Linked DNA regions of Homo sapiens: region 2 is linked to region 1. The links are contacts of gene promoters, found by promoter capture Hi-C in human tissues and cell types (Jung and others, 2019). All regions are on one chromosome and are shown on one strand. Each heading gives the region's core, a stretch centred on a gene start or on the middle of the fragment in contact. The rest is flanking DNA. Distances are from core to core; before and after follow the strand shown. Region 1 holds the start of NCOR2 (nuclear receptor corepressor 2). Region 2 overlaps NCOR2 (nuclear receptor corepressor 2).

Region 1 (5,026 bases), core at 1,681-4,180:
CTCCATTTTGGTCAAGCTGGTCTCGAACTCCCGACCTCAGGTGATCCACCCACCTCGGCCTCCCAAAGTGCTGAGATTACAGGCATGAGCCACTGCACCCTGCTGCAAGGGACTCTCTAAGGAGCTGGGACCTGAAGATAGAAGATGACAGTCTCAGGCAGACGGAACAGCAAGTGCAAAGGTGTTGAGGCGGGGATGAGCTGGACTATTTTGCCAAGTACTTAGAAAGGAATGGTTGAAGGATTGGAGGGAGTCTTTAGGAAGGAATGGTTGAAGGATTGGGCCGGAGATGGTAGAGACAAAGCCCAAGGGGCAGAAATTGGCGCCAACTGGACGGGAGCCCCCTGGATATATATACAGCATGCTCCAGCCAGCTGCAGCCTGGCCTGGGACACATACAACATGCTTCCCAGTGTCCCTGGTGACTTCCCAACTGAGTCTCCCTCTCCCTTCCTGTAAAATGGGTATGTTGAAAGTCTTTCCCTCACAAAGGCAATTGAGATGTTTGGGAAGCTCTTAGCTGTTACTGTTACTAACTCACAGTCCAGGGGGCCCCCCCGGGAAGGCTGTTTGTGTGCAGTGTTCTTTGGCCGCTTTTTAAAGGTACTGTTCCCATTAGTTGCTCATGGACTGTCACTCAGAGCCCAGTAGAAACAAAGTAGCAAACTAGGGTGCCGGTCTGCGATTGGGGGAAGGGGCGGGCTCAGCTGAGACCTCCCCAGAGTCCAGATTTCCAGCACTCATTTGGAATCACGGGCTGCTGCTGGAGGCTGGCAAGTCGGGTTCTTCATCTCTCCAGGCCTGTTTCCCTACTTGGGACCAGGCCCCTTGCTTCCCCCAGGGTAAGTGCTCACTCAGTGCTGGTGTTACTCCCCGCCGTCTGTGAGGGTGAGATTAATAACCCAATTCAGCCAGGAAACAGGAGCAGACGGGAAAGGGCCAATCCCTTTCGGGATAAACGCTGCCCTTCTCCTGGCCTCAGTCTTGCCATCTGTGACATGGTCGGGCCAGAGGCCATTGGCGCTTGAGTTGATAAGGCTTCCAGTGAGGGATTTCTAGGTGACGCTTGGGACATTACAAAGCTGACAGACCCCCTGCTTTCCCCGCTCCTAAGCCTGCAGGGAGCCCTCGAGGGCAGAAGCTGGGAGACCCCTGAAGACACCCCAAATGTCCCTCCTCCAGCTTCAAATAGAGCTGAATCTCATGGAAATGCAAATTCCCAGAGGGTTTTCAGGTGACAGAGGAGGGCTGCCAGGCGGCCTGGGGCTGGCAGAGGAGCTCCCCCGCCCCCGCTTCCCTCTCCAAGACCCTTGGTGGGGGAGGTGGGGGATCAGGCCTTCCTTCTGCGGCTCCAGCTTTTTGCCTGTGGATTCGGACCGACTGGCTGGGCAGAACTGGAGCTGGTCGGGCCAAAACAAGGAGGTGGGGGGGGGGCACTGACCTATGACCCCTCCTGTTTCAGTCTGCAAACTGCTCCCCTCCACACCCACTTCCCTTTTGCCAGACATTGTCAGCCCCAGAGGCTCCCGCCAGCCCCCCAAAAGCTCATAATTAAAAGCCCGAGGGGGCAGAGAAGGACCTGGCTGCAGGGGAGCCCGGCAAACCCAGCATCCTGGCGGAGGCGGGAGGCCCGCCGGCCTCTGGAAACCACGCGGCTGCCTCCCCACCGCAGCCATTCCCCGCTCTCCCTGGGGGTTCTCAGATGTTGCCAGATGGCAGAACTGAATCTGCTGAGACGTCACTCCAAAAAAGGAAAGTTGAACTGAAAAAAAAAAAAAAAATTCAAACTCTCCAACATCTTAGGAGAAAGCAGAAGAGGAGGGAGGGAGGGAGGCTCCAGGCCCAGGGCTCCCAGTGCCCTCTGCTGTTCAAAGAGATCTGCCCTGGTTGGAGAGGGCAAACCTGGAGGGGGTGGGAGGAGGGGGTAAATGAGGACACTGGGTTGTCAGGGCGGCCAGGGGGGCCAGGTTCCTGCTGGAGCGGAGAGTGTCTGCCTGTGCGTGGGGGAGCGAGCACATGTGTGCCGTCTGTGACTGCGTGCTTGTGCAGGCCGGGCGTGTGTGGCTCCCAGGGTCACGCTTTGGGATGTGTGTGTCTGTGTGTGTGTGTGGGGGGGGCGGGGGGGACACAGGCTCGTTGCATTGTCTCCGCATTTGTGTCCCTGAATGTCCCCAAGTGGGACTTCACTCAACACATTCGTGAGTCCCTACTGCGATAGGGCAGTGAACAAAATAGAAATCTCTGCCCTCAGGAAACTGGCATTCTAGCGTCTGTGTCCTCCGGGGTGCTGTGAACTCGCGTGGGTGTCCCAGTATTTGTCTGTGTGAGATCTGACATCTCCGGTCCGTGGTGGGTGGTGAGTCTGCAGTGTGTTCGCCCGGGCTGGGTCTCGGGTCTGGGGAGGCCCAGCGTGTTCCTGCCTGGAGAGGGCTCTGCGCTACTGTCTGCTCCCGTCCCCAAGTGCCCCACTGGGCGTGCTCCTAAAAGGCCCTGTGTAGGGCCCTCCCTGCGCGCCCCCTCCCCATCCAGCGGCCACTCCAGAGTTATAATTTAATAGCTGAAACGCGATTCCAGTGAGGTACTGGGGCTGGAGAGGAGGAGGAGGGCCCCCGGGCCCGCAGGAGAAGAGGGAGGGGAAGGCTGGGAGGCGCTTCCCCCCTCCTTCCTCCTCGGGGAGCTGCCAAAAAGAAACTCGGCGTCGCGCCCAAGTGTGTGCGTGCGTGTCTGTGTGTGTGGCGGCGTGCGCGCGCGAGTGGGGACGCGCAGGGCCTGGAGAGAAGGCGCGGGCCCTTTAAGGAGCCAGAGGGGGCCGGGCCGGGGCGCGTCGCTGCGGGCGGGGAGCCGGGAGCAGGGAGGCCGAGCCACCGCCTCCCGGGCTCGCGCCCCGCCCCCTCCTCCCCCTCCCGCCGCCGCCGCCGCCGCCGCCGCCGCCACCGCCGCCGCGGCCGCCGGGGAGCGCGGAGCCGCGGGCAGGCCGGGCCGCACCGGAGCCCCGCGTCCGCCGGCGCCCCGCCCGAGCCCTGCGCCCGCGCCCTGCGCTCCGCGATGCGCGCCAACTTGCGGGCCGGGGACCCAGGGCCGGCGCCCTAGGAGGCGGCGGCGGGAGGATCGCGTCCCGACCCGAGGCCGGGCCTGCTGCGCGCCCCCAGCCCGATCGGCACCGCCACTTGCCTGAGCGCCCCGGCGGCCCGAGCGCGCCCCAAGCCCGGGCGCCACCGCTGCCACCTCCGCGAGGTGAGTTGGGGCCGAGGGTCCCCGCGAAGGGCGGGGGGAGGCGCGGAGCGCGCTTCCGGGGGATCCGGGGAGGATCGGGCGGCGCACGCGGCGGAGTTGGCGGGGCCCCTGCACTCCCGAGTTGGCGCTCTCGGGGGGTGGCCTGCTGGGGAGCAAGGCGCCCCGCCGACACTGCGGCCCGCGTGCTCGGGGGCGCCGGGGAACTTAGGGGAACTCCAGCTCCCTAGCGAGGGGGCGGGAAGGAGGGAAGTGGCGTTGGGGTGGGCGGGGGGCGCGCTGGAAATGCACAGAGCGGCCCCCCACAGTGTGCGCCGGCTCTGGGGACTTGGCCGCCAGGCGTCCCTTGTACCCGGTGTAGCCCCGGACCTGGCGGGGCGACACTGCGCCTTATTTTCCATCGGGCAGCGCGGGTTTGAAAGCCCTTGGAGATGGTACCCCTAGCTCCCTGGCCTGGCTGTTGTGGAGGGGCGCATGAGGGTCTCTCACCAGCCGAGGGGGAGAGCCAGCCTTGTCCCTCCTAGGCGTGGGGCCACGGGGCGCTGGGCGGGGTCCCTCGGGAGAGTCGCCCCTGGTCCCCCTCCCCCGCGGGCCGGTGTTCCTGGTGTCTGGGCCTGCCTCCCGTGGCTGGTGACGCCTCATTGGGCCGCCTCCTAGTCCCTCCCCCGGGCTGTGCGGATACTTGGGATGCCACTACTTTGCGAAGTTGGAATTCAGAGCTGATCCCACTTGGGCACGACTGGGAAGACCCAGACCCTTGTCTAGAGGGCAGCTTCCTCAGAGGCCTGCGGGGAGTGAGGGCACCCGTGGGGTACGCCCTCCCCGCCCCAGACACTTGCAGGAGGAGCAAGCCGAGGGCGGGAGGGCACGGCGGGCGGGAGGGAGAGACAGGCTGTACCTGGGAGCTGCTGTCGCCCGGGCCCAATTAGCGTGGGGCGCCCGGCGTTATTTTTACATTGTAGGTTTATTTTTTTGGAAGCGAGTGTCCTCCCGCCGCCTGTCGCGCGCTCCGGCTCTCCGAGGGTCTGGTGCAGGCAGCGGGGGCGGATCTGTTCTGTCGGCTCAGCCTCCTCCCTTCCTCCCCCTCCTCCTCTCCCCCGTTGGTGAGAACTGGTTTTATTGTGATTATTATTATTTTTCCCTTTTTGCAGATTTGGAGGAAGGATGTGTGAGGGAGGGAAGAGGGGAGGAGGGGATAAGGGGAGGACCCTGTGGGCGGGGTGGGGGAGTTCTGGGCGCGTTGGGATGTGTTACCGGTGGCCTTGACTTTGCCCCTTTTCAGCCAGATCTGGGTCCTTGCGGCAGCTTTGATATAAGGGGCTCTCCGGGCCAGACTGCGCCGGGAGGGCGACCCGGGGCAGGCTGTGTACCTCGTGGGTGGCCTCTTTGGGGGTGCTGAGGAGGGGCCGAGAAATGGCAAGCAGCAGTGAGGTGGGATGGCCCACTCTGCACCTCAGCTCCTGGGGTTTGACTCTGACCTTTGCCACTTTCCTGGCAGTGTGACCCTGGACAGATGCTTAACTTCTCTGTGCCTGTCAGGTTTCCCATCTGCAAAATGAGGGTCAAAATGGTACTGAGTTCACAGAGTGGTTGTGAGAGCTGACCGTCCGGCCATAAGAATCCCTTGGTACTTGTATGTGTTACTATGACTACTGTGTCGGTATTATTATTCCTGGGTTCTAAGATTGGGCCTTTAATCCAACGTGGTCTGGAAGCCCTGTGAAAAGGGGCCACCTTACCTTTGGCTGGGGGTGGACAGTGGGGGGATCTGGGGGAGGGAGGGGGCCTTTTCCCA
Region 2 (5,026 bases), core at 791-3,290, 66 kb after region 1:
TCCATCCATTCGTCTGTCCATCCATCCATCCATCCATCCATCCATCCATCCATCCATTCACCCGTCCATCCATCCATCCATCCATCCATTCGCCCATCCATCCATCCATCCATCCGTCCGTCCGTCCATCCATCCATCCGTCCATCCGTCCGTCTTCCATCTATCCATCCATCCATTCGTCCATCCATCCATCCATTCATCTGTCCATCCTCTGTCCATCCATCCATCCATCCATCAATCCATCATCCATCCATCCATCCATCAGTCCATGCATCCTTCCTCCTTTCTCTATCCATGCATGCATTCATCCATCCATCCTCCTTTCCTCCCTCCCTTCCTCCTTTCTCCTCCATCCTCCCATCTCTATCCCTCTTCCATCTTCTCCCTCCATCCAGCCACCCCCTGCTGAGCACCTGGGTGGGGAGTCTGCCAGTTGGGCCAGACCTGTCACTGGGTGTGGGCCGTGGTCAGCAGGGCCTTTTGCCTTTTGTCTGACTTGGTCACTGCTGTAGCTGTGCTTGTACAGTGTTTGCACATAACAGATGCTGAAATAATTCTCTAATTGATGAGAATGGGTCAGCAACCGGAGTTTGGGATGGGTTTGGCTTGCCTGGTCTCAGCTGGAGGGCAGACCGCACCCTTGTGGGTGGCACCCGGGATTGAGCTCTTAGTATTTGACCCTCAGCCCCTCCGGCAGAGCCAACGACAGGCTGGGGTTGGGTACCTGGCTCTTCCTTAGGGAGTGGAATGACCTTTCTGCCAAGTGAGGGCCAAGGAGTCTGGCCTCATTCCTGCAGGCCTGCCGCTGTGCATGGGTGGAGGCCCGTTTCTCTAGGGCCCTGACAATCGTGGCTGTCATCATTCAGGGTTACAGGGGCCCTTTTACCTGTGCCCCACACTCAGACACCTGTGCCCAGTGCTCCTCGACACAGGGGCAGCTACAGTGTCCTTTGAACACAGAGACGCCAGAGGCAGACTTGCCACAGGAGACCGCACGTCAGCCTTGTTTAAAGTGCACCAGCTGTGTCCTTCCTAGCTCCCTTGCAGTGAACACCCCAGCTTTCTGGCTATAGCCAGAAAGAGTGACCTCACATGCCTTCGCTCACCCCACTCTCCCCATCCAGGCCTCCCTGCTGTCCTCACACACCAGGCTCGGTCCTGCCTCTGGGCCTTTGCACCTGCTGTGCCTGCTGTGTAGACTCCCTCCTCTCCCCGGCGCCTTTGCATAAAAGGCACCTCTGGTGACGCACCCCTGACTGCCCACTTTCAAAATGTACCCCCATTCCCTGCCTGCCGCCTCCTGGTTCTGTTTTTCTCCATCGTGCTAACACCTTCTGCCATCCTCTTACTCCCGTCTCACCTGCTGGAATGGCAGCTTCACGAGGTGGGGGATTTGGGATCAGTAATTCACTGCTGTATCCCCAGCACCTTTCACACAGTAGGTGCTTAACAAATCGTGGTAGACAGAGTGAGCCACCAGGCCGGGCAGCAGGAGCTCTCTCTTCACCCCCTTCCTCATTGGCTGTGGGGGCCCCTCTGGACTGGGCTGGGCGAGGTGCACCCTTGCCACGTCCCACCGGCTTTCCGCATCTCAGGACTCACTCCAGAGCTGGATTCCTGAGCATCCGTTCTGCGCCAGGAGTCCTGCTGAAGGTGGCCATCAGATACTTGGCCAGTTCCCCAGTTTTTACTGCACGCCAGAAAGTAAACACCCAAGGTGTCAACAGCTCGACCCGTGGAGCTGGCGCTCCGCAGCGTCTTGTGCGCACATCCCAGAACTGCTGTCCCAGAGTTCCCCCCGGGCCGGCTTCTCCTCGGGCCAGACTGGCTGCAGTGGTTTTGTTTAGTAAATATTTATTAGATGCCTACTGTGTGCTGGGCTCTGGGGATACAGCAGTGAACAAAACAAGTATTTCTGGAGCACCTCCTGAAGTAGGTAGTGTTCTCCCTTAAGGTACGTCTGCGTGGAACCTGGGAGTGCGGCCTTGTTTGGAAAGGGTTTTTGCAGATCACATTAGTTAAGATGAGGTCACAACCGGATAGGGGAGGGCCCCAAATCCAATATGACGGGTGCCCTTAGAAGAAGGGGAGACACAGAGACAGGAGATGCAGTGGAAAGGCTGCGTGGAGATAGAGGCAGAGGATGGCACGATGCATCTACAAGCCAGGGAACACCGGGGGTTGCCGGGGCCACCAGAGCTGGAGGAGTGAGGAAGTAGGAAGGGCCTCCCCCAGAGCCCCCAGAGGCCGTGGGGCCCTGATGACAGCTGGATATGGACTCGAGGCCTCCAGAACAGTGAGACAATCCATTTCTGTTGCTTGAAGCCATGCAGTCTGTGGTGGGGCAGCCGAGGGCGCTAATACGCCTCGTGTGTGCCAGGTGCCGTGCCTCTCGGTGGCTGTCACACAATAGGTGCTTATTCCACAGTGAGTGGAACAAATACCTACTGAGCGGTGAGGGAGGCCGTATGTGGCTGAGCTGCAGGGCTCCTGGGGCCTGCCTGTCTTCGCAGGGCCAGGCTGGGACAGTGGAGGCACGGCCTGTGTTCCCGCCGTGGTTCCGCCCACCCCAGGGGGGCTTTGTGCCTTGGGCTTCTCAGAGTATCAGAGGGTTCTGTCGAGTGTGTGTGTGTGTGTGTGTGTGTGTGTGTGTGTGTGTGTGTGTGCGCGCGTGCGCGCGCGCTCGTGCCGTGGGCGCTCTCTGCCTGGCAGGTTGGTTTTTAATCCCGAGGCTCCCCCACCTGCCACAGGTTCTTCCAATGTCAGCACCCATTAGTTCCCAGAACATTTCAGGCACGTGCGGCGCAGAGCCCCGCGTGCCTTTCATCCTCCCCACAGCCCGCGGCTGAGCGCTCCGGGCACATCCTGTAGCTCCCACACCTCCACCAGCCCCCGCCTGCCCCTCACCCTGAGGCTGTAATTCCACCCTCCCCAGGTCTGAACCAGGCCGCTCAAGACACAGAAAATCTATGGAATGTGTCTCGGTGTGGCCTCATCCTGCCGGAGCTGGAGAGGAATGCAGGGGTGGGAGGCCCCATGGAAGCTTCCAGGGCCTCCCGGAAAGGCGCCTCTGCCCGGCCAGGTGGGAAGAGGACACAGGTGTGGTGGTTTCTGGCATCACTGCGTTGCTGGCATGCACCTCCGCTGGGCAGAGTCATTCAGTGTGCACCTACTGTGTGCCAGGCACCAGAAGGGGCTCTGGGTCCAGCAGGAGGCAAGGCGGACAGCCAGTCAGAGCTCACGGCCTGAGCTTTCCGCTGTGGATTTGGAAACCTTACCAAAGCCCGCAGTGGCCGGGAACAGGGAATGTGGCCCACTTGGCTTCTGCTGCTGCCTGGCAGAGTGCAGTGGGGGCGGGGGGCACTTGTGTGTTTGCTACCTCCTGGCAGGCATGGCCCAGGGACAGACCCCTGCAGCCGTGCATGGGGAGCCCCTCCACCTGCCTGCGTGGGATCTGCAGCCCTCCTCCAGCTGGTTCAGGGGCCAGCAGGGGCCCTGGGGCTGTGGTTGGTGGCTTGGATGTGCAGAGGCCTGCTTGGGCCCTTGGTGTCCCCGTTGGGTATCCCGGCCACCTGAGATCTACAAGTCCCTTGACCTCACCCAGGCACCGTCTTGTTCTCCTCGGAGGCCTGACCCTCCTGACTCTGCATGGCTGAGCACCTGCTGTTCCCCAGGCACCTCTCGGTATGCCACAGGCACAGGGTCCTCGCAGCGGGCCTGTGCAGCGGGACTCCTGCAGCGAGCTGTTTCCTCGGCCTGCAGAGTCAGCCTCCCTCCTGACTTTCATCCACCTGCCCATTTCCCCTTCTCTGTCGCTGTTGCCCTGATCCCCCAGTGTCCCCTCTCTTGGACATTTGCAGGAGCCTCCCCAGGTCTCCCTGATCCACTCTTGCTGTCCCCAGTGCCTGCTCGTAAAACACTGACCCTTTACTCTCCCCCGCAACCACCTTCTGTGGCTCCCCACTGCCCTGAGAACAAAATCCATCCTTACCCGGGCCCATGGGGCCCTGAATGACTCTGTCCCCACTTCCCCCCATATTCACTCAATGAATTTCTCAAACATAAACGGCACCTGTGCTCACCCCCAGGCCCTCGCTCACCCCTGGGCCTGTGCTCACCGCCTGGCGGGGGCTCACCCCCAAGCCTGCGCTCACCCCCCACCAGCTGGCGCTCACCTCCCTGCTCTTGCTCAGCGGCGCCTCCAGCTGGAGCACTCTCCATCCCCTCGCCTTCACCCTCTGGAAGTTCTTCTTCCTCGTATCTCCTGGCTCTCCCCAGGGCTGGGCAGAGCCCCTGGCCTGAGACCCTCCAGGGCCTGGACCCCGCTGGGTTCACAAGAAGTCCCCAGCACTAGCCCGGGGCTCAGCAGGGACCACAGTGTGTATGTAAATAAATGAATGCCGCCCACCCTTTCTGACCCCACCGCAGCCAGACGCAGCGGCGACATGGGGCGTTTGTGTCTGAATTCCCCCTCCAGCCCGGATCCATCCTCAGAACCTCCTTTGGCCAGGACCAGATCCTGGAGACCCTGGAGGGGCTCCCTCGTCCTCTCCTGCCCCCATCTTTGAGGAAATGATGTCATCATTTTTTTTGGCATTCACTTCCAAACCTGCTGATGAAAAGTCAAAGCTTATTTTTTTCCCTATTCGCAGTGCTGCACACCCGCCTCCTCTATCAAGTTTCAAAACCTTTGCATCACTGCCCTGTAAAACCCTGTAACCATTAGCAGGCCTCATTCCTGCCTCACCCTGCCCTCCTGGTAGCCACCAGTCTCCTTTCTGCCTCGTGGATGTGCCTGTTCTGGACATTTCATATCCGTGGAGTCAGGCAGTTCGTGGCCTTTTGTGTCTGGCCTCTTTGGTTCAGCATGACATTTTCTGGTTATGTGTGGTGTAGGACACAGCCGTCCTTCGTTCCTCTTTATGGCTGAGTAATACTCCATCGTAGGGATGGACTGGAATTTTTGCTGGGTCTGCCTTTTGGCTGCTGTAAATTCTGTTGCCATGAACATGCATACCGTGTTTTG

The links. The method cuts DNA at HindIII sites, captures the fragments that hold promoters and counts their contacts. A contact is called where the count stands out against the background at its distance.
Region 2: a contact is called between a fragment that was not itself captured here and the fragment with the promoter of NCOR2 in region 1, in 3 of the 25 tissues and cell types used here (IMR-90 fibroblasts, aorta and dorsolateral prefrontal cortex).

Annotation. Positions count from the first base shown.
Region 1 is chr12:124,565,516-124,570,541 of GRCh38, reverse strand. NCOR2 (nuclear receptor corepressor 2) reads left to right here and starts at 2,930. Exons shown (of 49, transcript NM_006312.6): 1 at 2,930-3,234. RefSeq lists enhancers at 617-1,477, 1,478-2,338, 2,505-2,554 and silencers at 2,675-2,924, 3,035-3,394, 3,415-3,524, 3,665-3,884, 4,085-4,184. The HindIII fragment of the contact is 12,918 bases long and covers 1-5,026 here.
Region 2 is chr12:124,498,703-124,503,728 of GRCh38, reverse strand. All of the region lies in intron 2 of NCOR2 (nuclear receptor corepressor 2), which reads left to right. Among named protein-coding and RNA genes, the nearest start is that of NCOR2, 66 kb to the left of the region's middle. The HindIII fragment of the contact is 6,725 bases long and covers 1-5,026 here.